Linked DNA regions of Homo sapiens: regions 2, 3, 4, 5, 6 and 7 are each linked to region 1. Evidence: promoter capture Hi-C in 16 types of primary human blood cells and fetal thymus (Javierre and others, 2016). All regions are on one chromosome and are shown on one strand. The core of a region is centred on a gene start or on the middle of the fragment in contact, and the rest is flanking DNA. Distances in the headings are between cores, read along the strand shown. Region 1 holds the start of CCNB1IP1 (cyclin B1 interacting protein 1). Region 2 has its middle 20 kb from the start of RNASE1. Region 3 holds the start of RNASE1 (ribonuclease A family member 1, pancreatic). Region 4 overlaps LOC107984671 (a long non-coding RNA gene). Region 5 has its middle 11 kb from the start of EGILA. Region 6 has its middle 7.4 kb from the start of TRT-TGT5-1. Region 7 holds the start of TRY-GTA5-3 (tRNA-Tyr (anticodon GTA) 5-3).

Evidence for each region. Contacts are between HindIII fragments. The CHiCAGO score rates a contact against its expected background, and 5 or more counts as called.
Region 2: a contact is called between a fragment that was not itself captured here and the fragment with the promoter of CCNB1IP1 in region 1, in 1 of 17 cell types (naive B cells). The highest score is 5.0, in naive B cells.
Region 3: a contact is called between the fragment with the promoter of RNASE1 here and the fragment with the promoter of CCNB1IP1 in region 1, in 3 of 17 cell types (erythroblasts, neutrophils and total B cells). The highest score is 5.5, in erythroblasts.
Region 4: a fragment that was not itself captured here is called in contact with the fragment with the promoter of CCNB1IP1 in region 1 in 2 of 17 cell types (neutrophils and naive B cells); the score reaches 7.3 in neutrophils.
Region 5: a contact is called between a fragment that was not itself captured here and the fragment with the promoter of CCNB1IP1 in region 1, in 1 of 17 cell types (naive B cells). The highest score is 6.6, in naive B cells.
Region 6: a contact is called between a fragment that was not itself captured here and the fragment with the promoter of CCNB1IP1 in region 1, in 17 of 17 cell types (naive CD4 T cells, naive CD8 T cells, non-activated CD4 T cells and 14 more). The highest score is 29.8, in naive CD4 T cells.
Region 7: a fragment that was not itself captured here is called in contact with the fragment with the promoter of CCNB1IP1 in region 1 in 13 of 17 cell types (total CD8 T cells, naive CD4 T cells, non-activated CD4 T cells and 10 more); the score reaches 15.5 in total CD8 T cells.

What each region holds. Positions count from the first base shown.
Region 1 is chr14:20,331,721-20,335,261 of GRCh38, reverse strand. CCNB1IP1 (cyclin B1 interacting protein 1) reads left to right here and starts at 1,983. Exons shown (of 7, transcript NM_021178.5): 1 at 1,983-2,008. RefSeq lists an enhancer at 1,904-2,213. The HindIII fragment of the contact is 11,464 bases long and covers 1-3,541 here.
Region 2 is chr14:20,821,019-20,824,559 of GRCh38, reverse strand. No RefSeq gene overlaps it. Among named protein-coding and RNA genes, the nearest start is that of RNASE1, 20 kb to the right of the region's middle. RefSeq lists an enhancer at 2,536-2,830. The HindIII fragment of the contact is 1,018 bases long and covers 1,275-2,292 here.
Region 3 is chr14:20,801,043-20,804,583 of GRCh38, reverse strand. It overlaps RNASE1 (ribonuclease A family member 1, pancreatic), which reads left to right and starts at 1,740. Exons shown (of 2, transcript NM_002933.5): 1 at 1,740-1,787; 2 at 2,491-3,356. The coding sequence starts at 2,516. The coding sequence ends at 2,986. The region is part of intron 3 of LOC105370397 (a long non-coding RNA gene); the gene reads right to left. The HindIII fragment of the contact is 7,079 bases long and covers 1-3,541 here.
Region 4 is chr14:20,774,292-20,777,832 of GRCh38, reverse strand. All of the region lies in intron 1 of LOC107984671 (a long non-coding RNA gene), which reads left to right. Among named protein-coding and RNA genes, the nearest start is that of RNASE6, 5.2 kb to the left of the region's middle. RefSeq lists an enhancer at 2,295-2,898. The HindIII fragment of the contact is 1,584 bases long and covers 1,002-2,585 here.
Region 5 is chr14:20,716,322-20,719,862 of GRCh38, reverse strand. No RefSeq gene overlaps it. Among named protein-coding and RNA genes, the nearest start is that of EGILA, 11 kb to the right of the region's middle. The HindIII fragment of the contact is 3,886 bases long and covers 1-3,541 here.
Region 6 is chr14:20,672,570-20,676,110 of GRCh38, reverse strand. No RefSeq gene overlaps it. Among named protein-coding and RNA genes, the nearest start is that of TRT-TGT5-1, 7.4 kb to the left of the region's middle. The HindIII fragment of the contact is 2,088 bases long and covers 777-2,864 here.
Region 7 is chr14:20,651,985-20,655,525 of GRCh38, reverse strand. TRY-GTA5-3 (tRNA-Tyr (anticodon GTA) 5-3) reads left to right here and starts at 2,334; the gene lies at 2,334-2,427. It overlaps LOC124903281 (a long non-coding RNA gene), which reads right to left and starts at 2,214. Exons shown (of 2, transcript XR_007064059.1): 1 at 2,036-2,214. The HindIII fragment of the contact is 845 bases long and covers 1,416-2,260 here.

The sequences.
Region 1 (3,541 bases), core at 734-3,233:
GTGGCAGGAAATCACATGGCCAGGATGCTGAGACTGCTAACATGCTATCCTTAAGTCTCTTTGCCTTTTCTTTAAAGCCACTAGTTCCCCTCCCATGATAACCTATTAATCCATGAATAGATTAATTTATTTATGAGGGCAGAACCCTCATGATCCAGTCACCTCTTGAAGGCCCCACTTCTAATGAGGATTAAGTTTCAGCCACTTTAGGGATTAAGTTTCAACATGAATTTTGTAAAAGGTGAAAGATTTATGCGATATGAAGAGAAACTAGAGTGACAACATGAATTTTGAAGGGGACAGTCAAACCATAGCAACTGGGATCTGAATCCTGACTTTACCACTTGCTAAATAGACAAATTCCTTAATCTCTATAACTCTGTTTCCTTTTTTTTTTTTTTTTTTTTGGTGAAATAGTTATAATGAAAGTGCTTACATTCTTGGGTTAATGTGAAGATTAAACAAGGTAATGAATATTACATTTCTTGAATATTTATAGTAAACATTCAAGAAATGTTTTGACTCTAGAAGTTACAATAAATCAATTATGAAATAACAAATTAGCATTTGATGCTAAATGTTGGGAAATTTGGGGCAGGTAAACTCTAAAGTGGATTGGAATAGGTAATTTCTAGTAAGGTGGAAGCAGGGTGGATAGGATGAAATGATTAAAAAATGAGAACTACTATGAGTTAGAGTTGTATCATTTCTCCATATAACTTGAATCTTTATACTTCAAACATTTGCACATTACATGTATATTTGTACATATAACACATACTTGTATATATATTCCCTATTACTATAATAGTATTTATTAAGAATAATGATGAATATTGTGCCGGGGAGTCCTCTAATTATGGCTTAAAAAGAAATCTTTCAGCTTGGGCAACATGGCGAAACCCCATCTCTACAAAAAAATACAAAAATTAGCTGGGTGTGATGGTGCACGCCTGTAGTCCCAGCTACTTACTGAGGCAGGAGATCGCTTGAACCTGGGAGGTCAAGGCTACAGTGAGTCGAGATTTCACCACTGCACTCCAGCCTGGGACACGAAGTGAGACCCTGTTTCAAAAAAAAAAAAAATTTAACAGAGTAAGAACCTATACTTTAACTGGAGGGCGATGTGAGGAGTCAAAATAATTGATTAATCAATTATGTCCTCAGCATTGAAAGTCATTGTTTTTGTCTGGAGATGTGTAAAACGTACACTTTGATCTCCAGTTGTTTATAGTCTACTTGGGAATATAAATCTAACAAGAAATATGTAATAACAATAATAACAGCTAACATTGTTGAGTACTGTGTACCGGGCATTGTACTGAGTACATTATATAAATTATTTTACTTAATCCTCATAACCATCAGAGTAGGAAGATTTCATCTTTTTTCCCTCTTTTTATAGTTGGAACTGAGGCTTAGATGTGTGCAAATAAGTGGCAAGGTTCAGATTCAAAATCAGCTAAATTTTATTTGAAGCCTAAAACACTTAACCCACCTACCTTTTATCTACTAAGCCTGTTAGTTCAAAGATTACCTGAAGGTAAATTTTATCAGGCCAGCTTTGGATCTGGGGGGAAAAAATGAAGGTAAATTTTAACTTGAATCGATCTAGACTGTTTATAATGGAATCTGTTGCCTAGCATAAGTTAAGCATGTTGAGGTCACAAAGGATAAGAAATTACCCTTAAGGGATGAAAATTCTTTAGAATAGAATGCAGTAGGCCCACGCAAACAACAACGTGTATAAATAGCTTAAATTAGCCTGTTTTTGCCTAAGTACATTAACTCAAAAGGAAACTCGGTTTAAGAAGTTCACTCCAAAAATAGTGCAAGAAGCATCACTGGTCCATAAAGAGGGGTGGAGTGGGTTACGTCATTTCAGCACCTTTTAAGGTAAAGGAGGAGGGAATCCTCTTGAACTCATTAGCCAATCAGGTTCTGAAGACACTTCCCAAGGCGACTTCCTGTCTCTCCACTTTCTTTCCCTCTCCGTTTTGGTGGGCTGGTGAGTGTGCGCTTAATTTTGCTCTCTAATTGTTTTGAATTTCTCTTCCATTTGAGTTATATACCCAGGTGGCAGGCCTTTATTTCAAGTCGGCATAGGAGTGTGTGTGAGTCGCAAGGAGATTAATTTCGGCTGTGTGGAGGTTGGGAGAAGGCAGTGAAATGCTCTTCCTGGCTTGTTTCCACGTGGGCCTCTGCAGTACTGGGTTTGCCTTCCGTCTCCGAGTCCTGGTGACCCAGGAACAATAGACTGTGCTTCATGTGCACAGTGCGTGTGTTCTTGGAAAACGCCGGCTTCATTTTGCTTGGCGGGAAAGATATTATCATCCTAATGCTGTTTTGATTTATATCTCCCTGGGTGAGGTCAGATTTCGGGAGAAGGCGTTCAGCTCAGTAGAGTTTAATTCTCCGGTGAGTGTCTAGAGGGCCCAGGTCCTTACTGGGTTTGTGGAAGCTGCAGCGTACCTTGTCTTTCTCCTGGCCTTCGCTCAGATCATTTCGGCTTTCTTGGTGAACCTGGGCAGCAAACTCTGAAGACAGATAAGCCTTAAAAGGAGCTCCTAATTTTTAATGTTGCCACTGTGGTGATTGTGTCCTTAAAAGCTATGGAAAAAGATTAGGGACCTTAGTTCAGGGCAAGCCTCTAGATTTAAATTCCAGCGCCACAGTTTACAGCTCTGGTGACCTTGGGAGAAGCAGTGAGCCATTCCGAGGCTTAGCTTTCCAAGATCAGATAAAATATATAAAAACTAGGCTCTAGTTGGTGTGTAATAAATGTTAGGTACCTTTAGAAGTAAGCAGTACTTATTTATTTACAGCAAGTATTTTGGATATCTGTTTTCTCATAAAAAGTTTGCTTAGTGACCTTCAATGTCATTTCACTGAATTCCTTTCTTTTGGTACATGTTAATTTTAATGTGATGTTTGTGTTGGATATTCTTATAGGCAGAAAGTGTGAGAAAGACAAATAATAAACCAGTTAATCGAATGTAGTAATAGGTATTTGTAGGCCTCCCATAATTTTTATAATTCTCAAGCATTGTTAAAATTTATTTTTTGGGGCATGGCGGCGCATGCCTGTAATCCCAGCTACTCGGGAGGCTGAGGCAGGAGAATCGCTTGAACCCGGGAGGTGGAGGTTGCGGTGAGCCGAGATCGCGCCATTGCACTCCAGCCTGGGCAACAAGAGCGAAACTCTGTCTCAAAAAAAAAAAAAAAAAAAAAAAAATATATATATATATATATATATGTATACACATCATATATATATATATTTTTGAATAGGTAATACATTCACATGGTTCAAAATTCAAAAGATATCAAAGTTTCTTATCCCCTTCCCTAAGCCATCCAATTCCTCTCCCTCATAACAGTGTTACTAAGATATTTTATGCATATAAGCAAATATGTGTAGGTATCCTTCCCTTTTACTATACCTACTCTACTATGTGTCTTACTTTTTCCACTTAAGTTCCATGAGTAGAGTGTTCACATTCTTCATAATGGTAACATAGTATTCTTTAAAAATTATTTT
Region 2 (3,541 bases), core at 534-3,033, 490 kb before region 1:
GACAAGACCAAGATAGCTATCATAGAAGTTAAAGACTTAAAACAAACTGGCAATTAAGACGGGATACCAAGATGCAAATGCCTGGTTGGAATGGATCAAATATTCCATCTGCACGTTAAACAAAAGCAATTGTTATGCTTGTGTGCACGGCAGGCCAGAGGCCCAGATTGTCCCCTTTCCACTAGGGTGGTCCTCCAGTCAACCAGGCATGGGCTGCATGGTAGCTCTTTTCCAGGATTCTACAGCCTGGAGTAACAAGTCATGCCATGCTCTCTCTCTCTGCTATATCCTGAAGTCTGGCACCCTGTGGGTCAGCCCCCGAGGGCCATCCCCTCGGGGATGTTGGGAGTGTTTCATCTCCCAACACTAAGTTCACTTAGTGTCTCTCATGACAGGGAGGAAACTTAGCGTTCCTTGGAGACCTGAAGGGATGCAGTGAGTTTAAGACTTTCCAAGAGCTTACAAATCAGTCAGCCTTTGTTCATCCCTTAGCGGATGTGTGGTGGTATTGTGGACCTTTACCGGAAGCTCTGCCAAATAACTGGAGTGGCACTTGTGCTTTAGTACAATTGGCTATCCTTTTCACCCTGGCATTTCATCAATCGGAGGAAGGAAAAATAAGACATTGTAAAGCAAGAGAAGCCACTTACGGGTCTTTCGACTCACATCTATTTAAATGCAATTGGAATCCCATGGGGAATACCAGATCAATTTAAAACCTGAAATCAAAGAGCTGCAGGATTTGAGTCAATATTTTGGTGGGGGACAATTAATAAAAATGTAGATTGGATAAACTACATCTACTACAACCAACAGCAATTTATTAACTACACTAGAGTTGCTGTTAAAGGAATAGCTGAGCAATTAGAGGCTACTAGCCAGATGGCTTGGGAAAATAGGATAGCCTTAGACATATTAGCAGAATGAAGAGGAATTTGCATCATGATTAAAACTCAATGTTGTACCTTCATCCCAAACAACACCGCCCCTGATGGAAGTACAACAAAGGCATTGCAAGGTCTGACTGCTGTGTCCAATGAGTTAGCCAACAACTCAGGGGTAAATGACCCCTTTATAGGAGGGCTAGAAAAGTGGTTCAGTAAATGGAAAAGGATAATAGCCTCAATTCTTACTTCCCTCACAGCCGTAATGGGTGTACTTATTCTTGTCGGGTGCTGTGTCACACCATGCATCCATGGGTTGGTGCAGAGGCTCATAAAAATGGCACTCACTAAAACCTCCCTTAACTATCCTCCACCTTATCCAGAGAAGCTTCTTCCTTTGGAAAATCAAGCAAAACAACTAAGCCGAGACATGTTAAAGAATTTTGAAGAGAAAAAACTGTAAGGAAATATAAGAGGAGGGGTTGTTAGATATGAGTTCTAAATTTCTCTTCAAAGAATCAGTATGTCAGTATGTTCGTATGTTCAATTCTTTGCCTTCTACTTTTAACTTCCTCGTAAAGCAACCTTTTTCGATTACCTGCTCCACCCTGACTCATTCCAATTACCTGCTCCACCCTGACTCATTCCGATTACTTCCTCTGCCATAACCATTTTCCCCACCAAACCACTCACCCTGTCACTCTCTTTAAATTAGCCAGTCGGAATTAGTTTAGCCTGTGCGTTCTAACCCTAGCCAATAGAGGAACGACACAGCAGCAGGGGCCACATGCGTCAGGGATAAGAACCCCTTTCCCTCCCTTGTCCAAGTGTGTGCTCACCATTGCTCCATCTGTAAGGGTGCACCCTTCTATAGAAGTACATTGCCTTGCTGAGAATTAAAAAGAACATTTTATATTCGAGTGCTATTTCTTTTGTGGCACCAAAACTTTATTTATAACTAGGGGTTTCACCATGTTGGCCAGGCTGGTCTCAAACTCCTGACCTCAAGTGTTCTGCCCGCCTTGGCCTCCCAAAGTGCCGGGATTACACACGTAAGCCACTGTACCTGGCTGGCATTGGTAGTTTTTAAGAGCTTCCAAAAAGATTTATCGAAAAGTCTCATCAAGTTATAAGTAGCAGAGCTGGGGAAAAAACACACTTTTTTTCCCTGACCTTTTATATTACCTGAGCTATATTTATTACACCACTTCTCTGTTTTTGAAAATTCACCTTTCTACAGTAGCAGTCATTAATTGTTGCCTTTTTATTGGAGAGCTAGGCTTCTCATTTATTCTTTTTCAGATGATATTGTACACATCATGACACCTTTCTGAAACCACCTTTGCAAAATTATGACCGAGACAGTGAAACAGATCTAACCTAACTAACTCTATCTTGCTTTTAAGCTTTAAGCTGTCCTTGTTCATTCCCGGGGTAGGCTGAACTAACTTTGGGAGAAACTTGCTTTATGGTTTGTAGTTTAAAACAAAGACAATAACAACCCTTTCCTAAAGCAGACCTCCTTCTTGCCTGGGGACTAGATTCACTTTGTAGGACTAACATTAGCCACAATATTAGAAATTATGGTTTAGGAGTCATGCAGCTGGAGGCTACAAGATTCTGACCCTCCCTAAACTCCTCCTAAGATCAGTGCTTGAGATATTTTGCTGACCCTGCACTTGATGGATCAGCTGGCACCACCCAGATTGATAAACTGGCTCATCTGATCTTGTGTCCCCCACCCAGGAACTGACTCAGTGCAAGAGGACAGCTTCAGTTCCCTATGGTCTTGTTTCCTAACTGACCAGTCAGCACTCCTGGCTCACTGGCTTCCCCCCACCCACCAAGTTGTCAGTAAAAACTCTGCTTCCCTGAATGCTTGGGGAGACTGATTTGAGTAATAATAAAACTCCGGTCTCCCACACAGCCGGCTCTGTGTGAATTACTCTTCCTCCATTGCAATTCCCCTGTCTTGATAAACTGGCTCTGTCTAGGCTGTGGGCAAGGTGAAACCACTGGGTAGTTACATTCCTCCTTCATGAAAAACACATTCCATTTCTTCCACAACCACCTTTTGATTCTGCACCATGTCTAATATTTTTTGTATAGTATTTTCTTTGTTTCTAGTCAGTTAATCTTCTGTGACTCCGTAGCCTTCTACAATGAGACATTAATTTACTTGACATGTATTAATTGGAGACCAACTGTATACATGGCACATGATCAGGAGATATGTGTGAATAAAACACCCTTTCTGTTCTTGAAAACAGTGTAATTTGGGAGACTGAGAAGAAAGAATTCCCACTGAATGTGAGACATGGTATAATAAAGTGTGAAATGCTGTGGAATCACAGATAAAAGAGCAGGCAAGGGCACGCTATTGTTTGACACAGAAGAAAAAATGGTCTCTTGCTCTCCTATTAGAAGTGAAATACCTTTTTTTTTTTTGAGACAGAGTCTTGCTCTTGTTGCCCAGGCTGGAGTGCAACAGCACGATCTCAGCTCACTGCAACCTCCACCTCCCTGTTTCAAGCGATTCTCCTGCCTCAGCCTCCCTGGACCTGGGATTACAGGCTCCCGCCACCATGCCTGGCTAATTTTTGTATTTTTAGTAGAGACGGGGTTTTGCCATATTGGCCGGGCTGGTCTCAAACTCC
Region 3 (3,541 bases), core at 491-2,990, 470 kb before region 1:
TCTGATGGTTCCCCATTGAAGTGCAATTAAAGCTCCAAGGGCTTGTCTAGATTGCTATGCATAAATAGACAAAATGGCTTCCTGTAGTTTCAGGATTCCTAGGGCCAGGGGCTGTTGAAGAGCCTTATTATAGTTACAGAAGATCTGTTCACATCTGAACTGTGGTTCTGAAATCATCTTGCTGGGTGGAGGCCACTTTTGTGCAGCCACGCCCAGTGCCTTAGTGGGGTCCACCTGACTAACCAAACCATCCCACCAGGCGCCCTTCAGGTGAGTCCTGTGCCTTATTTATGTCTGTATCCCACAGTCTAATGAATGAATGAACACATTCTAACTTGACTATTCAAGAGAATAAAAGTATTATTAAAGACTCAGAAAAATAAAATACAGGTGGGGGCTGGGGGAGTAAGGAAACTGTAGGGGCCAAGGAAAAATTCCCCTTTCACCCTCCAAAGGTTTGCTGAAAATCAACTGACAAAAGACAGATTGATAGGAAAAAACGCATACAAATTGATTTGATCGTAGTTTTACACGACACGGGAGCCTTCAGAAGACCCAAAGATAACAGGGGAAAGTGGGCATTCTTACACTTGGATATCAACAAAGTATGAACAGCTGTGTAGAAATATGACTGGACAACAGGGCGATCTAATGAAAATAGACTGAGTGGGGAAACCCAGCAAGGCCTCCCTGTCTAGATTCTTCTTGGCCTCTCTGAGCATTCGTCCTTTTTTTCTGGGTATGGGGGGCAGGACCCTCTCTGGAATGAGGATCTTACGACCTACAATCACACAAGGTAGGTCAGATAATTTCACTATGGCCACTTTTTACACAGAAAGGCTGAAACAATCTGAATACACAGCACGAAGGGATATTTTGATAATTCTTAGAGGTATCCAAATTGTTACTCAGCAAAAAAACAGGTCTCTTTCTAGGAGGGCATTCTGCTGCTAATAAATATGATATTCTTTGTATTTTTTCCCCAAAAAGAATTTGAGATTTGGGATTTAAGTTTATCTTTAGTTCCTCTACTCAATTCCGACCTACAGGGTCAGTGGTTACTGTAGATAAGAACAGCCCCATCCTCTCGATGCCCCCAGAGCAGGGGTGGAGGGTGGGTGGGAAGTGGCCAGAACTGGGTGAGCGCACCCTAGAGGCCTCCTCCTCCTCCCTATTCAGTTACTCCCCCTTTCTTCTCCAGATCTGGGAAGCCTTCCAGCTGGGGGCAGCAGGACAGCCTCCATTCCCCCCGACCCCGCCTCCCATCCCCGGGAGAGGTAGCGTTGGGAGAATGCCCTCCTAGAAAGAGACTTGGGTTTTGCTCCCTAGGAGCCCTGGAATAGCTTTGGCCAGAATTCCCTATCTCCCATTAGAACCTCTCCTTTGCGTCCTTTGTTAACCTCCAAGTCTACTTGGTGAAAACGCCCACGAAGAAGTAACAAGGACTTTGTTCCTAGTGTGCCAGGTTTGGGCACCAGTGCTGTAGTGGCTTTCTCTGCTGCTCCTTGTGCATCAGCAGACAGATGTGGTTCACATAGGAAGAAAGACTAACGTAGGCAAAGATTTGCTCTTTCTTCAGCAGCCCTAGAAAGACGGCGGCCTGGGTGATTCACCACTCCTTCCTCACGTCCTTGATTTTATTTGAACTGAGCTCCAGATGCTCCTCCCACCCTTTTCCTCTTGGAAGCCAAACCCCTTTGTAATCTGTATAAGGTCCACACCCCGGGAGCTGAGTGATTGCAGAAACTGGCCTTCCATCTCTCTCAGACACCAAGCTGCAGATCCAGGTAAGCAGCCCAAGAGGTGTTCTCAGGTGCCGCTTCTGCTTCAGGGTTGCAGAAGAGGGAGCTAGGGCCAGTCCACAGCACTGAGAAAGATTGGGTGATGCTAGCGCTGAAAAAATGTGGCCCAGGCAAACATCAGCTGGGGGCAGAGGGGTCAGGGTGGAACGTGCAGGCTGCAGAGCATCCATGGGACTGGAGAAGAAGGAGCCTCCAAATTGGGGGAGGCCAGCGTTTCTCTCTGGAATACAATGGAATCTTTTATGATGCCAGTGTCAGGCACTGGCCTGAGTTCCCTTATGCTCCAAGACAACAAGGCTCTGTCACCCATGGCCCTGGATGTCGGGGATACAATTTGGTTCATGATTTATTCAAACTGATGTTTCGATGAGCCATTTGAGCACTGGGTACAAATGTATTTTGGATCAAAGAAACTCCAGTATTCAAAGATAGGAACTGACAGGATTTTAGGTCACTTTGTAGGTCACCACCTAGAGGGGAGGAAGACCTCGCTTTGGAGAGTGGGAATAAAACGCTCGTGGAAAAGGGTACACGTGAGTGTCTCATTACACGAAAAACCTCAGGAAGTAGGATGGACGTCTTTCTGGCTGACCTGAAACAGAAAGTGTAAACCAGGCAAGCCATAGGTGGGAGCTGGAGTTCTTTTTCTAAGAGGGCTCTTTTCCTTCTCTCTCCTTTTCTCAATTAGGCTTTTCTGGGAAAGTGAGGCCACCATGGCTCTGGAGAAGTCTCTTGTCCGGCTCCTTCTGCTTGTCCTGATACTGCTGGTGCTGGGCTGGGTCCAGCCTTCCCTGGGCAAGGAATCCCGGGCCAAGAAATTCCAGCGGCAGCATATGGACTCAGACAGTTCCCCCAGCAGCAGCTCCACCTACTGTAACCAAATGATGAGGCGCCGGAATATGACACAGGGGCGGTGCAAACCAGTGAACACCTTTGTGCACGAGCCCCTGGTAGATGTCCAGAATGTCTGTTTCCAGGAAAAGGTCACCTGCAAGAACGGGCAGGGCAACTGCTACAAGAGCAACTCCAGCATGCACATCACAGACTGCCGCCTGACAAACGGCTCCAGGTACCCCAACTGTGCATACCGGACCAGCCCGAAGGAGAGACACATCATTGTGGCCTGTGAAGGGAGCCCATATGTGCCAGTCCACTTTGATGCTTCTGTGGAGGACTCTACCTAAGGTCAGAGCAGCGAGATACCCCACCTCCCTCAACCTCATCCTCTCCACAGCTGCCTCTTCCCTCTTCCTTCCCTGCTGTGAAAGAAGTAACTACAGTTAGGGCTCCTATTCAACACACACATGCTTCCCTTTCCTGAGTCCCATCCCTGCGTGATTTTGGGGGTGAAGAGTGGGTTGTGAGGTGGGCCCCATGTTAACCCCTCCACTCTTTCTTTCAATAAAACGCAGTTGCAAACACCTGATTTCTGAAGCGGTTCTGTCTAGGTACTGTTTCTGGCATTGCCTTCCAGCAAGGGGTAAGAACTGTAAATCTGATTCACTTTGGAGAACGGTGAATGGAGTAATTAAATGCCTTCCCTTCTGACTTGGATTTTAGTGGCTTGAGAAAATTCCTTTCCTTGTAGATTCCCTGATGCCAAACATAAAACTGTTAAGTGTGGGCTGTTTTAGACAAAAGGGAGCTACAGCCTGGGACACTGCCATGCAGGGTGAACTGACAGAGGGGTGAAGCTCAAATACAATCATTCTCTGGCACAGAAGGAAGGCAAGTGTGAC
Region 4 (3,541 bases), core at 544-3,043, 440 kb before region 1:
AATTGCATTTCTTGGAAGAAGTTTTCCTTATCCAGACAAGGGAACTTCCAGAGAGAGCTCCTCTCTGCATTTGAGAGCTGGGGGAGGAATGAGAGAAGATTAGAACATCTTTGGTCCTGAGGCAGCTTCTAAGAAGTTTTGGTTTCTTTAATTCTTTAATTCTAGTTAAATTTAATTCTTTAATTTAATTTCTTTAATTCAAAAGTGCTCAGAATGCCATGCATCATAGTTTGTAGTATGATTCTCTGTACCCCAACACTTCACCAAACAAGATATACAGATGGCAGATGAGCAATGAAAAGATGTTCAGCATCACATTGTTTGGAGAAAAACTTTTCCTCTATCATTTTAGGTTTTAAAGGTGGTGGTAAAGGAGCTTGTGAATTAGAAAAAGATTAATAGGAGAAAATTCAAAGTTTATTTACACATGCACACAGGAGTATTACATAATGCGTAACTTGCTGAATAGCCAGAGGTAAAGTTATATATCAACTTTAAAAAAAGTGTTTTTGGCCAAGTGCAGTGGCTCATGCCTGTAATCCTAACATTCTGGGAGACTGAGGCAGGAGGATCACTTGAGGCATGGAGTTTGAAACCAACAGCATAGCAAGACCCCCATCTCTATTTTTTAAAAAAAGATTTGGCCGGGCATGGTGGCTCACACCTGTAATCCCAGCACTTTGGGAGGCCAATGTGGGCAGATCACCTGAGGTCAGGAGTTTGAGACCATCCTGGCCAACATGGTAAAACCCCGTCTCTACTAAAAATACAAAATTTAGTCAGGCATGGTGGTGGGCACCTGTAATCCCAGCTACTCGGGAGGCCGAGGCAGGAGAATCTCTTGAACCTGGCAGGCGGAGGTTGCAGTGAGACAAGGTTGCGCCACTGCACTCCAGCCTGGGCAACAAGAGTGAAAGTCTGTCTCAAAAATAAAATAAAATAAAAAATAAAAGATTTTTGTTGGGGCTTCAAAAGGAAAATATGGAAGGTTCTAGTAAGCTTTCTGATGCTAATAGAAATGGGTAGATTGATTTCTTCCTGGCTGGAAGTTTCCCTGTATGGGGGTTTATGGAAGCTAATTTACACATCCCAGTGCTAAGGGGCTGTCTCGTTTCAAACAGGAAAATACCTTTGAAGGGGATCAATGGCAGCTGAATTTTCAAGAGGCTCTGGTTAAGTTTAAATAGTGTTTCTTTCTGCAGCTTCTGTCTGTTCAGACATTTTCAGTTTAAAATAATTTTCATGCCACTATCATCATAACAGATTTGTTACTTGATGCACAACAAATGGATATATTAAGAAAACAGGGATTGAAAAAGAGAGAGTTTAATTTTCATAGGGCAGCCAAATGAGTAGATGGGAGGTAACCTACAATTTGGTTTTGGGTTTGGGGATAGGGTTTTTAAGGAGTCTGGACAAGGGCCAAAATGTGAGCATTTCTGATTCATCAAGAAGTGAGAGGTGAAGTCATGGGACAGGGACATGAAGAAACTCAGCATTCATGTGCCAAGCCAGTTCCTTGGTAGGGGTCTTTAGACTGGTTAGCATTAGCTGTTGCACTGGAATTCAGGATCAGAAAAACACCTTAAGCAATTCTTAAGCAAAAAGATTTCATGATTCTAGTATTGGAGATTCTACCTATAGGAACAATCGGGGAGTAGGTGGTCAGCATGCTACTTGGGAAATTAGAAGCTACAGGGAAGTGGGTTGAAGTGTACCAGCATGCTATGATTAATGTGCAATTCTGCCTAGAGCCTGGCTTGCAACACTCCATAACTCTGCAAGGGCAGTTTTGCCATATTGGTGGGCTGTGAATCCCTTCAATCTGTCATTAGAAAATTGCAAATTAAAACAATGGGATAATACTACACACCTACATGAATGACTAAAATGCAGTGAAAACTGACATCATCAAAGCCAGTAAGGATGCAGAGCAGCAAAAATGCTAATTGACAGGACTTTCAACCTGGAGGCATATTTTGGGGTGACATATTCTTGTTTCCTATGAGACTTCAGTTAGGCTAGCTTGGATCTCATAACCATCGCTTGGCTCAGTAGAGGGGACTGCAGACCTTAGTGGACAGCCTCACCAATACTACACACAAAAGAGGAAGGGTAGATACCTAAGGAGAGTCAATATGCAGCTATCCAAATAAGGGGTGGACCACCGGGAAAGCCAGAGAAACAACACAAAGCTATTACTAATTGCCCTTAAATCTACTTTCCTCCTATACTATTTTGAACAACCATCTGCTAACCCTTTAATAAAAGCAAGTTTTAAAGAGTTACTTAAATGAGGTATTTGTGAGAATCTACTATAGGAGACCAGAATATGCCACCCCAAAATATGCTTCTTTATTATGAATATTATTTTGAACTGCTTATTTTGAGAAGCAGTATACACAAGACAAACTCTGAAAATAGAGTGCACGTTGCTGTTTTGTAAGGGACATTTGCGTTTATAAGGGAAATCTTCATTTGTAAGGATGTCTCCCTTTCTTCACCAGAAAGAGAAAGGTGACTCTAAATCAAAAGAAACCCTTATCAGCGGAGAAGGTACTGACTTAAATCTGCATGAGAAAGCTTTCCCTTGTTTACTGTACTTTTCCTGGTCATCCCCCTGTAAGTTGCTCCCCGACATGCTTCTTCCTTTGCTTTAGCGGAAGGCATTTAAGCCCAAGTTCTAGCCACCTCTTTGAGTTGCTTTCTGAATTTCTCTCATGTATGCATGAGATGCACATGTTACTAAACTTCTATTTTTCTCTTGTTAATCTGACTTTTGTTTCGGTGGCCCCAGCCAAGAACCAAAGGGGTAGAAGGAAAATTTTTTCCTTCCCTACATACATTTTGAAGAGCGTTTGTCAACTGAGAAAAACAAACAGTATTGTTTCTTCTCATATGTATATTGATCCTACATGCAGAGCTACTGGTTTAATACTAGTCTCTTCTGAGTTTGGTTGGTAGAGATTGTCATCCCCAGGTGTCTGCTCCTCCCCAGGTGCACTCAAAAATTGCAAAGCTGAGGAACTGCCTTATACGCTGGCTACTAGAGTTATAGGAAAGTGTGCAGTCACTTAATAAATAATGTTGACACTTTGGTTTTTCTTTAATTGTTTCAAGGCCAGAGTCATTCCACATTGTAGGAGTCTGAAGAACACAAGGTACTTTATTGTTTAGCATTTTCCCTGGCCCATACTGCTCCAGGGAGAATTGTATGAAGTAAACATTTCTTACTTTGCATCTCACTCCTGCAATTAGCAAACAGAATTTCTCGACCTGCTTGTGAACCCTATTTTTTTTTTTTTTTTTTGAGGCTGGCTGGAGTCAGTGGCACAATCCACTTAACCTGCTTGTGAACCAATTTTTTTTTTTTTTTTTGAGGCTGGCTGGAGTGCAGTGGCGCAATCTTAGCTCAATGCAACCTCCACCTCTGGGTTCAAGCGATTCCCCTGCCTCAGCCTCCTGAATAGTTGGGACTACAAGGGCGTGCCACCATACCTGGCTAATGTTTTTCTTTGTATGTTAGTAGAGATGGAGTTTC
Region 5 (3,541 bases), core at 509-3,008, 380 kb before region 1:
AGACCAAACCAGCCACAACATTCTCTTATGCCAAAGTCAAAACCAGATCAGGCCCTTCAATTCTCTGAAAGCTGAGAGAGGTGAGGAAGCTACAGAAGAAAAGTTGTAAGCCAACACAGGTTGGTTCGTGAGGTTTAAGGAAAGAAGCCATCTCCATAACATAAAAGTGCAGGATGAAGCAGCAAGTCCTGAGGAGAAGCTGCAGCAAGTTCTCCAGAAGCTCTAGATAAGATCATTGATGAAGGTGGCCACACTAAACAACAGATTTTCAGTGTAGATGAGACAGCTTTATAGTGGAAGAAGGTGCCATCTGGGACTCCCATAGCTAGAGAGGAGGAGTCAGTGCCTGGTTTCAGAGCTTCAGAGGGCAGGCCAACTCTCTTGTCAGGGGGCACCTGCCACTGGAGACTTCAGGTTGAAGCCAGTGCTCATGTATCATTTGAAAATCCTAGGGCCCTTAGGAATTATGCTGAATCTACTTTGCCTGTCTCTATAAATGGAACAACAAAGCCTGATTGACAGCACATCTGTTTACATCATGGTTTACTGAATATTTTAAGCTCATTATTGAGACCTGCTCAGAAAAAAAAGATTCCTTTCAAAATACTACTGCTGATTGGCAATGCACTTGGTTACCTAAGGCCTCTGATGGAGATGTTCAAAGATATTAATTTCCATAGTTTCCATGCCTGCTCACACAACATCCGTTCTGCAGTTCTGCAGCCCATGGATCAAGGAGTAATTTTGGCTTTCAAGTCTTATTACTTCAGAAATACATTTCATAAGACTATAGCGGTCATAGATAGTGGTTCCTCCAATGGATCTGGGCAAATAAATTGAAAATATTAATTCAAATAATGGAACTCATTTCACTGCACATATCATTAAGAAATTAGCCCAAGCACTAGACATAACGTGGGAATACCATACTCCTTGGCACCCACCTTCATCGGGAAGAGTAGAAAGAATAAATCAAACCGTGAAGAGTCACTTAACCAAATTAGTCTTAAAGACTCAGTTGCCATGGACTAAATGCCTTCCCATTGCCTTGCTAGGAATCTGAACCACCCCTCAAAAAGATGTTGGCCTATCCCCATATGAGATGCTATATGGGTTGCCCTATTTACACTCCACTGCTGACATTTCCACCTTCGAAACAAAAGATCAGTTTCTCAGACATTATATACTTGGTTTATCTTCCACTTTCTCTTCCCTTAGAACTAAAGGTCTTTTAGCACAGGCACCATCCCTGGAGTTCCCAGTACATCGAAATCAGCCCGGGGATCAAGTCCTCATCAAAAACTAGAAGGAGGAAAAGCTGGAACTGGCCTGGGAAGGACCTTATCTAGTGCTCCTAACTACTGAAAGCGCAGTCCAGACAGCAGAAAAAGGATGGACCTATCACACCCAAGTCAAGAAAGTGCCGCCCCCTCCAGAGTCGTGGGCCATAGTCCCAGGGGAAAACCCTACCAAACTAAAGCTAAGAAATTTTTTTTTTTTTTGAGACAGAGTCTTGCTCTGTTGCCCAGGCTGGAGTGCAGTGGTGCGATCTTCACTCACTGCAACCTCCACCTCCCGGGTTCGAGCAATTCTCCCGCCTCAGCCTTCCGAGTAGCTGGGATTACAGGCGTGTACCACTACGCCTGTATAATTTTTGTACTTTTAGTAGAGATGGGGTTTCACCATGTTGGCCAGGCTGGTCTTGAACTCCTGACCTCAAACGATCCACCTGTCTCGACCTCCCAAAGTGCTGGGATTACAGGCGTGAGCCAAGCTAAGAAAAATTTAACTCTCTTATTACTCCTTCTTCTTTCCTCATTCTATTGCTGACCACCTCATTATTAATGTAACAAAGTCAATTTCACCTCAAACTATTACATTTGATGCTTGCCTTGTTATACCTTGTGGAGACTTGTCAAGTTAAAGACAGCTCTCCAATTCAGAAAAGTACCTCTGTCCTTCCCGGCTCTCCTCAGACTGGACATTAGTGAATGGGGATCATTTAGTCTGGAGAGATTTCAATAAAGACCCCAGTATCAGCTGGGAGTCTTGCTCCTGCAAGACAGAGCTTTTATGCCACAGTTGGTCCAACATTCTGTGGACCACTAAAGAGCAAGGATGAGCTGCCCCAACCAGTGGTTGTAATTTCCTAAAGTCATATATTCACTTTACTAAAGGAACAGCTTCACCTAGCTGTCAGCTGAACCGTGCAATCCAATACAGGTTATTATCTCAAACCCTCAAAGCTCTTCCCCTTCTCTAAGCCGGTTCCCTTCTTTAAGCCGGTTTTATGGTGTGGGGGCTGAGGTTTCAGGAACAGACCCTATCAGATCCTTTGAAACACAATTCATTGATCCTCTGCCGCCTACACCTTCCCTTAAGCCTTCTTCCAGAAGCTCTCACAACAAAACTGTTGTTCTCCTCCATCTAATGACAAGACCAAGGTAGTTATTATAGAAGTTAAAGACCTAAAACAAACTTTGGCAATTGAGACAGAATATCAAGATGCTAATGCCTGGTTGGAGTGGATCAAACATTCCATCCACACTTTAAACAAAAGCATTTGTTATGCTTGTGCGCACGGCAGACCAGAAGCCCAGATTGTCCCCTTTCCATTAGGATAGTCCTTTAGTCTACTAGGCATGGGCTGTATGGTTACTTTTTTCCAGGATTACACAGCCTGGGGTAAAAAGTCGTGTCAAGCTCTCTCTGCTATATCCTGAGGTTCAATACCCTGCAGGTCAGCCCCCAAGGTCCACTCAGCTTCTGTCCCCTGACGCTAAGTTCACTTCATATCTCTCACTACAGGGAGGAAACTTAGCATTCCTTGGAGACCTAAAAAGATGCAGTGAGCTTAAGACTTTCCAAGAGCTTACCAATCAGTCAGCCCTTGTTCATCCCCAAGCATATGTATGGTGGTATTGTGGTGGACCTTTACTGGACTCTCTGCCAAGTAACTGGAGCAGCACTTGTGCTCTAGTTTAATTGGCTATCCCTTCCACCCTAGCATTTCATCAACCAGAGAGAGGAAAAATACAACATCATAAAACAAGGGAAGCTCCTTATGGGTCTTTCAACTCCCACATTTATTTAGATGCAATTGGAGTCCCATGAGGAGTACCAGATAAATTTAAAGATCAAGATTAAATAGCTGCAGGATTTGAGTCAAGATTAAATAGCTGCAGGATTTTGTGGGTGACAATTAATAAAAACATAGATTGGATAAATTACGTCTATTATAATTAGCAGTGGTTTATTAATTACACCAGGGATGCTGTCAAAGGGATAGCAGAACAATTGGGGCCCACTAGCCAGATGGCCTGGGAAAACAGAATGGCCCTAGATGTGATATTAGCTGAAAAAGGCAGTGTTGGTGTTATGATTAAAACTCAGGGCTGTACCTTTATCCCAAGCAACACTGCCCCCACTGGGAGCATAACAAGGGTCTTACAAGGACTTACTGCTTTATCCAATGAATTAGTTAAAGATTCTGGAGTCAATAACCCTTTCTCAGGATGGCTAGAAAGGTGGTTCAGTAGAT
Region 6 (3,541 bases), core at 571-3,070, 340 kb before region 1:
GGCTTTGGGAAGGAGGCGACAGCTCATGTTAGCAGGTGGTGATGGAATCTGACTGGCCGGTGCCTTAAGTAGGCAAGTGATAAGTTTATCCATGTGGCTCTTTACTGTAGTCATCCCTGCTGTAGAGGGCTGTCCTGGGTATTGCAGGATGCTTAGCGGAACCCCTGGCCTTTCCTCACTACATGTCAGTAGTAATATGCCCTCCCTACCCAGCTGTGACATCAAAATTGTCTCTAGCCACTGCCAAAAGTCCCCTAGGAGGCCAAGCCATCTCTGGAGATGACTATCTCCCAGTGTGTAGCTTGTCTCTTACAGTGTCTTTACCAAGGCAGAGGTTTCTTAATTTTAATGAAGTTCATTTAATTGTGTTTTTCTTTTGTGAGTCATACTTTCAGTGTTGTATCTAAGAAAACTTTCCCCAGCACAAGTTGACAAAGATTTTATTATAAAAATTTTAAAGTTGTGGGTTTTATTGGTAGGTCTGTGATCTACTTGAGGTTCATTTTTATATGTAGAGCAATGTAGGGATCAAGAATCTTTTCTTAATTAGCCGGGCATGGTGGCACGCAACAGTAGTCCCAGCTACTTGGGAGGCTGAGGCAGGAGAATCGCTTGAACCCAGGAGGGGGAAGTTGCAGTGAACCAAGATTACACCACTGCACTTTAGCCTGGGCAACAGAGTGAGACTCCGTCTCAAAAAAAAAAAATTTGTTGTTGTGATTTTTCTAAAGTTTGCTGAGAAAACTACCTTTCTCCACTGAATTGCCCTTGAAGCTTTGGCAACAGTCAATTAACAATATGTATGTGGTTTTATCTCCGTACTCCTGATCTATTGTTCTGTTGTTTTAAATTTCTTAATGCCAGTATGACACTGTCTTAATTATAGCAGTTTTATAATAAATACAATAAAATATAAATAAGTCGGGCAGAGTGAGTCTTCCAACTTTGCTTTTTCCAAAGATGTTTTGGGCATGCTGTCTTTGAATTTGCAAATGAATTTTGGAATTAGCATGTCAATTTCTTTAAAAAAAAAAAAACCCTGTTGGGATTTTTATTGTAATTAGATTAAATCTATAAATAAATTTAGGGATAACAAATATCTTAACAATATTGAGTCTGTTCATGCACAAATATGAAATGTCTCTTGATGTATTTAGGTTTCCTTTCATTTCTCTTAGCATTTTTTTCAGTGTACAAGTCTTGGACATATTTTATTCCTAAGTATTTTATATTTAATTACTCTGTTGTAAATTGTACTGCTTTTTAAAATGTCAATTTTCACTATTACTAGTACACACAATTATACATATGTATATACAATTTATAAAATAATTATGCCAAGCCTGGCCAACATAGCAAAGCTCCATTTCTACAAAAAATGTTTTTAAAAAAATTATCCAGGTGAGGCTGGGCGTGGTGGCTCACACCTTTAATCCCAGGAGTCCATTCAGTCGGTTGTGGGTGCTTAAAATTAGTTTGGCTTAAAAATCATTCATTTTCAACCCTCAGAGGCTAACTTGAGGTACATATTCTAAAAGTATTAGCTTCTTTGTGACAGAGCTTATAGAAAAGATGGGACAGAGATGCTGCTCCCAGCACCAGCATAATTGCCTAATGGGTTCATCTTGCCCCTGCCCAGAAAAGCTGATTTACTGAGACAGTGTTATTGCAATGAAGAGTTTAGTAAATGCAGAGCCAACTAAATGGAAGAATGGAAGACTGGAGCTTTGTTATTACTCCTATCAGCCTCCCCGAAAATTCAGAGGCTAGGGTTTTTCTTTTTTTGAGACGGAGTCTCGCTCTGTCACCCAGGCTGGAGTGCAGTGGCGCGATCTCGGCTCACTGCAAGCTCCGCCTCCCGGGCTCATGCCATTCTCCTGCCTCAGCCTCCCGAGTAGCTGGGACTACAGATCCCTGCCACCACGCCCGGCACATTTTTTGTATTTTTAGTAGAGACGGGGTTTCACTGTTTTAGCCAGGATGGTCTCGAACTCCTGACCTCGTGATCCGCCTGCCTCTGCCTCCCAAAGTGCTGGGATTACAGGCGTGAGCCACCGCGTCCGGTCGAGGCTAGGGTTTTTCAAGGATAGTTGTGAGACAGCCAGGTGGAAGGGGGTCCCCGCAGACTCCCCGACCAGCCTGCGCACTGGGACGAATGCGCACTGGGGTGGAACCTCGGGAAGTTAGTGCCATTCGCAGCGAGGAGGAGCCTGGCCCCATCTCTTCCTGGGAGGAGCCTGGGATTTGAAAGCCTGGGCGGCAAGTGCTCTAGCAGGGACTCTGGCCTAGCAGAGTCCCCCTTTTCTTCCTTTTTCACCCAATAAAACCCTGTCTTACTCACCATTCCAATTGTCTGCGAGCCTGAATTTTCGTGGCCGTGGGACAAAGAACTCTGTCTTGAGCTGAACTAAAGAAAAGTCCCGCAACATTTGGGCAGGCAGGGGAATGCTGATTAGTTAGGTCAGAGATAAAATCACAGGGAGTCGGAGCTTGCCTTCTTTCACTGAGTCAGTTCCTGAGAGGGGGCCAGTTTATCGATCTCGGTGACGCCAGCTGATCCATTCAGAATGCAGAGTCTGAAAAATACCTAGAACAGCAATCTTAGATTTTTACAATAATAATGTTATCTATAGGAGCAATTGAGGAGGTTAGGATCTTGTGGCCTCTGGCTATATGACTCCTGAGCCATAATTTCTAATACTGTGGGCTAAGTTGTTGCTTTTACAAAGGAGGTCTGACCCCCAAGCAAGGAGGGGGTTTGCTTCATGAAGGGGCTGTTGTCATGTTTGTCTGAAAGTTAAACTACAAACTAAATTCCTCCCGTGGTTTGCTTGGCATACGCCCAGAAATGAGCAAAGGAAGCTTGGAGGTTAGAAGCAAGATCGAGTTGGTAGCCGGGTGCGGTGGCTCACGCCTGTAATCCCAGCACTTTGGGAGGCCAAGGCGGGCAGATCACTTGAGGTCAATAGGTGGAGACCAGCCTGGCCAACATGGTGAACACCCATCTCTATTAAAAAATACAAAAATTAGCCGAGCGTAGTGGTGCACGCCTGTAATCCTAGATACTCGGGAGGCTGAGGCAGGAGAATCGCTTGAACCCGGGAGGCGGAGGTTGCAGCGAGCCGAGGTTGCGCCACTGCACTCCAGCCTGGGCAACAGAGCAAGACTCCGTCTCGGAAAAAAAAAAAAAAAAAGATGGAGTTGGTTACATCAGACTTCTTTCACTGTTATAATTTTTGTAAAGGTGGTTTCACCAGCTGCACTCTTCTCATAGCTTCTACTGAGAAACTGGGGAGATTGCTGGCGGTGGGGAATCTGGGTCTAGCGAAGGTCTCAGGCAGTCTGCACTGATACTAATTTTCCAGGTCAGGAGAGACAAAGTAGTCATAGTGGGCCCATGTTTCCCCAGTGTGTCAAGCCAAAAGGTTAAAATAATAGGCACTATGGACTTAAAGAAATCAAAATTAATTTTGTCCCAAACCAAGTTGAGAACCGTAGCCTGGAACACAAACAGTGCAAACTGAGAATGTGTCCCAGAGTG
Region 7 (3,541 bases), core at 589-3,088, 320 kb before region 1:
CTTAAACTCAATGGTGGCCAGGTTCCTTGGATGTGGCTTGCTGCACCTCCAGTAGGTGTTCAGCTGGGGGGTGGGTGTCCCAGTGGTCTTGGGGTAGTGGTGTTGCGGGAAGTCAGGGACCCCAAACAGAGGGACCGGCTGAAGCCATGAGAGAAGAATGTGGATTGTGAAGATTTTATGGACATTTATTAGTTCCCCAAATTAATACTTTTGTAATTTCTTGTGCCTGTCTTTACTGCAATCTCTAAACATAAATTGTAAAGATTTCATGGACACTTATCACTTCCCCAATCAATACCCTTGTGATTTCCTATGCCTCTCTTTACTTTAATCTCTTAATCCTGTCAGTTGAGGAGGATGTATATTGTCTCAGGACCCTGTAATAATTGCGTTAAGTACACAAATTGTACAGCATGTGTGTTTGAGCAATATGAAATGTGGGCACCCTGAAAAAAGAACAGTATAACAGCAATGTTCAGGGAATAAGAGAGATAACCTTAAACTCTGACCGCCGGTGAGCCGGGGGGAACAGAGCCATATTTCTCTTCTTTCAAAAGCAAACGGGAGAAATATCGCTGAATTCCTTTTCTCAGCATGGAACGTCCCTGAGAAAGAGAATGCGCACCTAGGGGTAGGTCTCTGAACTGGCCCCCCCCGGGGCGTACCTGTCTCTTATGGTCGAGATTGCAGAGGTGAAATAAACTCCAGTCTCCCATAGCACTCCCAGGCTTATTAGGAAGAGGAAATTCCCGCCTAATAAACTTTGGTCAGACCGGTTGATCTCAAAACCCTGTCTCCTGATAAGATGTTATCAATGACAATGGTGCCAAAACTTCATTAGCAATTTTAATTTCACTTCGGTCCTGTGGTCCTGTGATCTCGCCCTGTCTCCACTTGCCTTGTGATATTCTATTACCCTGTTAAGTACTTGATGTCTGTCACCGACACCTATTCGTATCTCCCTCCCCTTTTGAAACTCCCTAATAAAAACTTGCTGGTTTTTGTGGCTTGTGGGGCATCACGGATCCTACCAATGTGTGATGTCTCCCCCGGATGCCCAGCTTTAAAATTTCTCTCTTTTGTACTCTGTCCTTTTATTTCTCAAGCCAGTCGATGCTTAGGAAAATAGAAAAGAACCTACATGATTATCGGGGCAGGTCCCCCGATATAGTGACACACACCAGATAAGATCTGAAACATTGTCAAACACATGGGGTCAGGGTAAGCAGTCCAACACTGACACTTCTGTCTTCTACTTCACCCATCCCCTATTTTTTTTTTTTTTTTTTAGACAGGGTCTCTTCTGTCACCCAGGCTAGAATTCAGGGGCATAATCATAGCTCACTGTAGCCTTGAACTCCTGGCCTCAAGCAATCCTCCCACCTCAGCCTCCCAAGTAGCTGGGACTACAAGCTTGTGCTACCACACCCAGCTAATTTTTGTAATTTTTGTAAAGATAAGGTTTTGCCGTGTTGCTCAGGCTGGTCCTTGCCCCTTTGCTTTTTCAGAGCCCACAGAGCCTTGTCCTACTTCTAGAAGTTGCAAGTGGCAAAATATTTCTGATTGGTTTGCAGAGGAGGGAAGCCAACCACCAGATTGGCCCCGAGGGAGGAGGGGTATTACATGTGCCTCTGCAATCCCTGGGAGGGGTCTCCTCACCTAATTCTATTTGTTCTTTCCCTCACTTCCCAGTACACCTCAACGGGCCAATACGTGAACTTAGGATACTGTAGGTAGAAGGCAGAAAGCGCATCGGGAGGAAGAACGGGGGTGGGGGATGAGGGGGTGGGAGAGCAGTGGAAGGTGTAGGGAGGTCAGAGTGTTAGGGAAGGGCCTCATTACCGGCCACCACCAGACCCTGCGGCTCGGCTGGGGTTGGAAGCCTTCTACCAGTGTCCATTCCAGGTCTCCTCCTTTCTCCTCCAGCAACCCTTCCCTCACCGGACCCCCGCACCCTGCATCCACCTCGCCAACCCCTCTGCCTCTCACCCTCTCACTTTTTTTTTTTTTTGCCACTGAGGTCTGTCATCCTCACCTGTAGAAAGGGGGATGCACAGGAGGAAGAAGATAGCAAGTGAGAGCACACTCCCACCACTACCCCCACGCCCCCTACCCGGCTCGCCCCTCATGGGTCGTTGTTATCGATGCCGGGGAAAGCCAGTCAACCACAGCCAGAGGATTTTGTTCCGCCGCAAAAGGAGCGCGGTGGCGATCGGCGCAGGATTATCTCTCTAAGGCGAGTTCCAACCAACTTAAAGCTTATTGGACGACTAGAGTTGCAAGGAGTCTTGCATTTGCTGAAAGATCAATGACCCAACCCCAGAAACGTGCGCCCTTCGATAGCTCAGCTGGTAGAGCGGAGGACTGTAGCCTGTAGAAACATTTGTGGACATCCTTAGGTCGCTGGTTCGATTCCGGCTCGAAGGAGCTGCCGTATTCTTTTGCACACGCACGCACCAAAACTACGTGGCTGCATCTCTGCCTGGTCAAAGGCTTTGCCAGCCAGCATCCACACTCTCCCAGGAGAAACCTAGCAAGGCCTTTCCGGATTACCCAGCTTCCCACAGCCTATGCTGTGGCCTTGGGAGTCTGCTCATTCTTCAAGTCATTGCTTTCTCTACTATCTTCAAATTTTTTATATAATCTGGGATTTTTATCTCCAAGTCATTGATTTTTATGGCCATTAGGTGACACTATAACTGATATTCTTATGAAACTAGATGAAATATTTGAATAACATGTTAGAAAATTGAATTCATGTATATTAAAACAATGTCTTAACAATTATTTACATTTACATATAAGTTCTATTTCTTTCCTTGCTCATAAATTTTTTGCATCTCACTGTTTTGTGATTTTATTTTTTATTTTCAGGAGTTCAACCTTGAGCAATTCCTTTAGAATGCATCCATGGATCTTAATGAAGATATAAGTTCTAGAACACCCCCCAACCAAGTGCCCTCAATGTAAACTCTCTTTTGACTGCTATTTATGCTGAAAATAGAATTGGAGGTATTATGGGCTGAACTGTGTCTTTACAAAATTTAATATGCTAAAGCCCCAATCACCATACACCAGAATGTGACTATAGGATAGCACCTTTAACATGGTGATTAAGTTAGAGGCTGTTAGGGTGTGCCATAATCCAATCTGACTAATACCCTTATAAGAAGAAAAAAATCTGGACACAGAGAGACACCAGAGATGTATGCAAATAAAGGATGAACTGTGTAAGGACAGAGAGAGAAGGTAGCCATCTGCAAGCCAAAGAGAGGTCTCAGAAACCAGTAGCTTGATCTTGGGCTTCAAACCTCTAGAATTGTAAGAAAATGAATTCCTGTTGTTAAAGCTACCCTGTCTGTGGTATTTTATGATGTTAGCCCTAGAAAACCAATATACTAGGCTCAAAATCATTTTCCCTCTTACTCCTGAAGATAACTGACATTGTTCTTGTTACACAGAGTTTTCATTGATGATGAAACTGATTTTTCTTATTTTATAGATAATTTTTTTTCTTTTACATTTCAGGAAGCATTTAAGC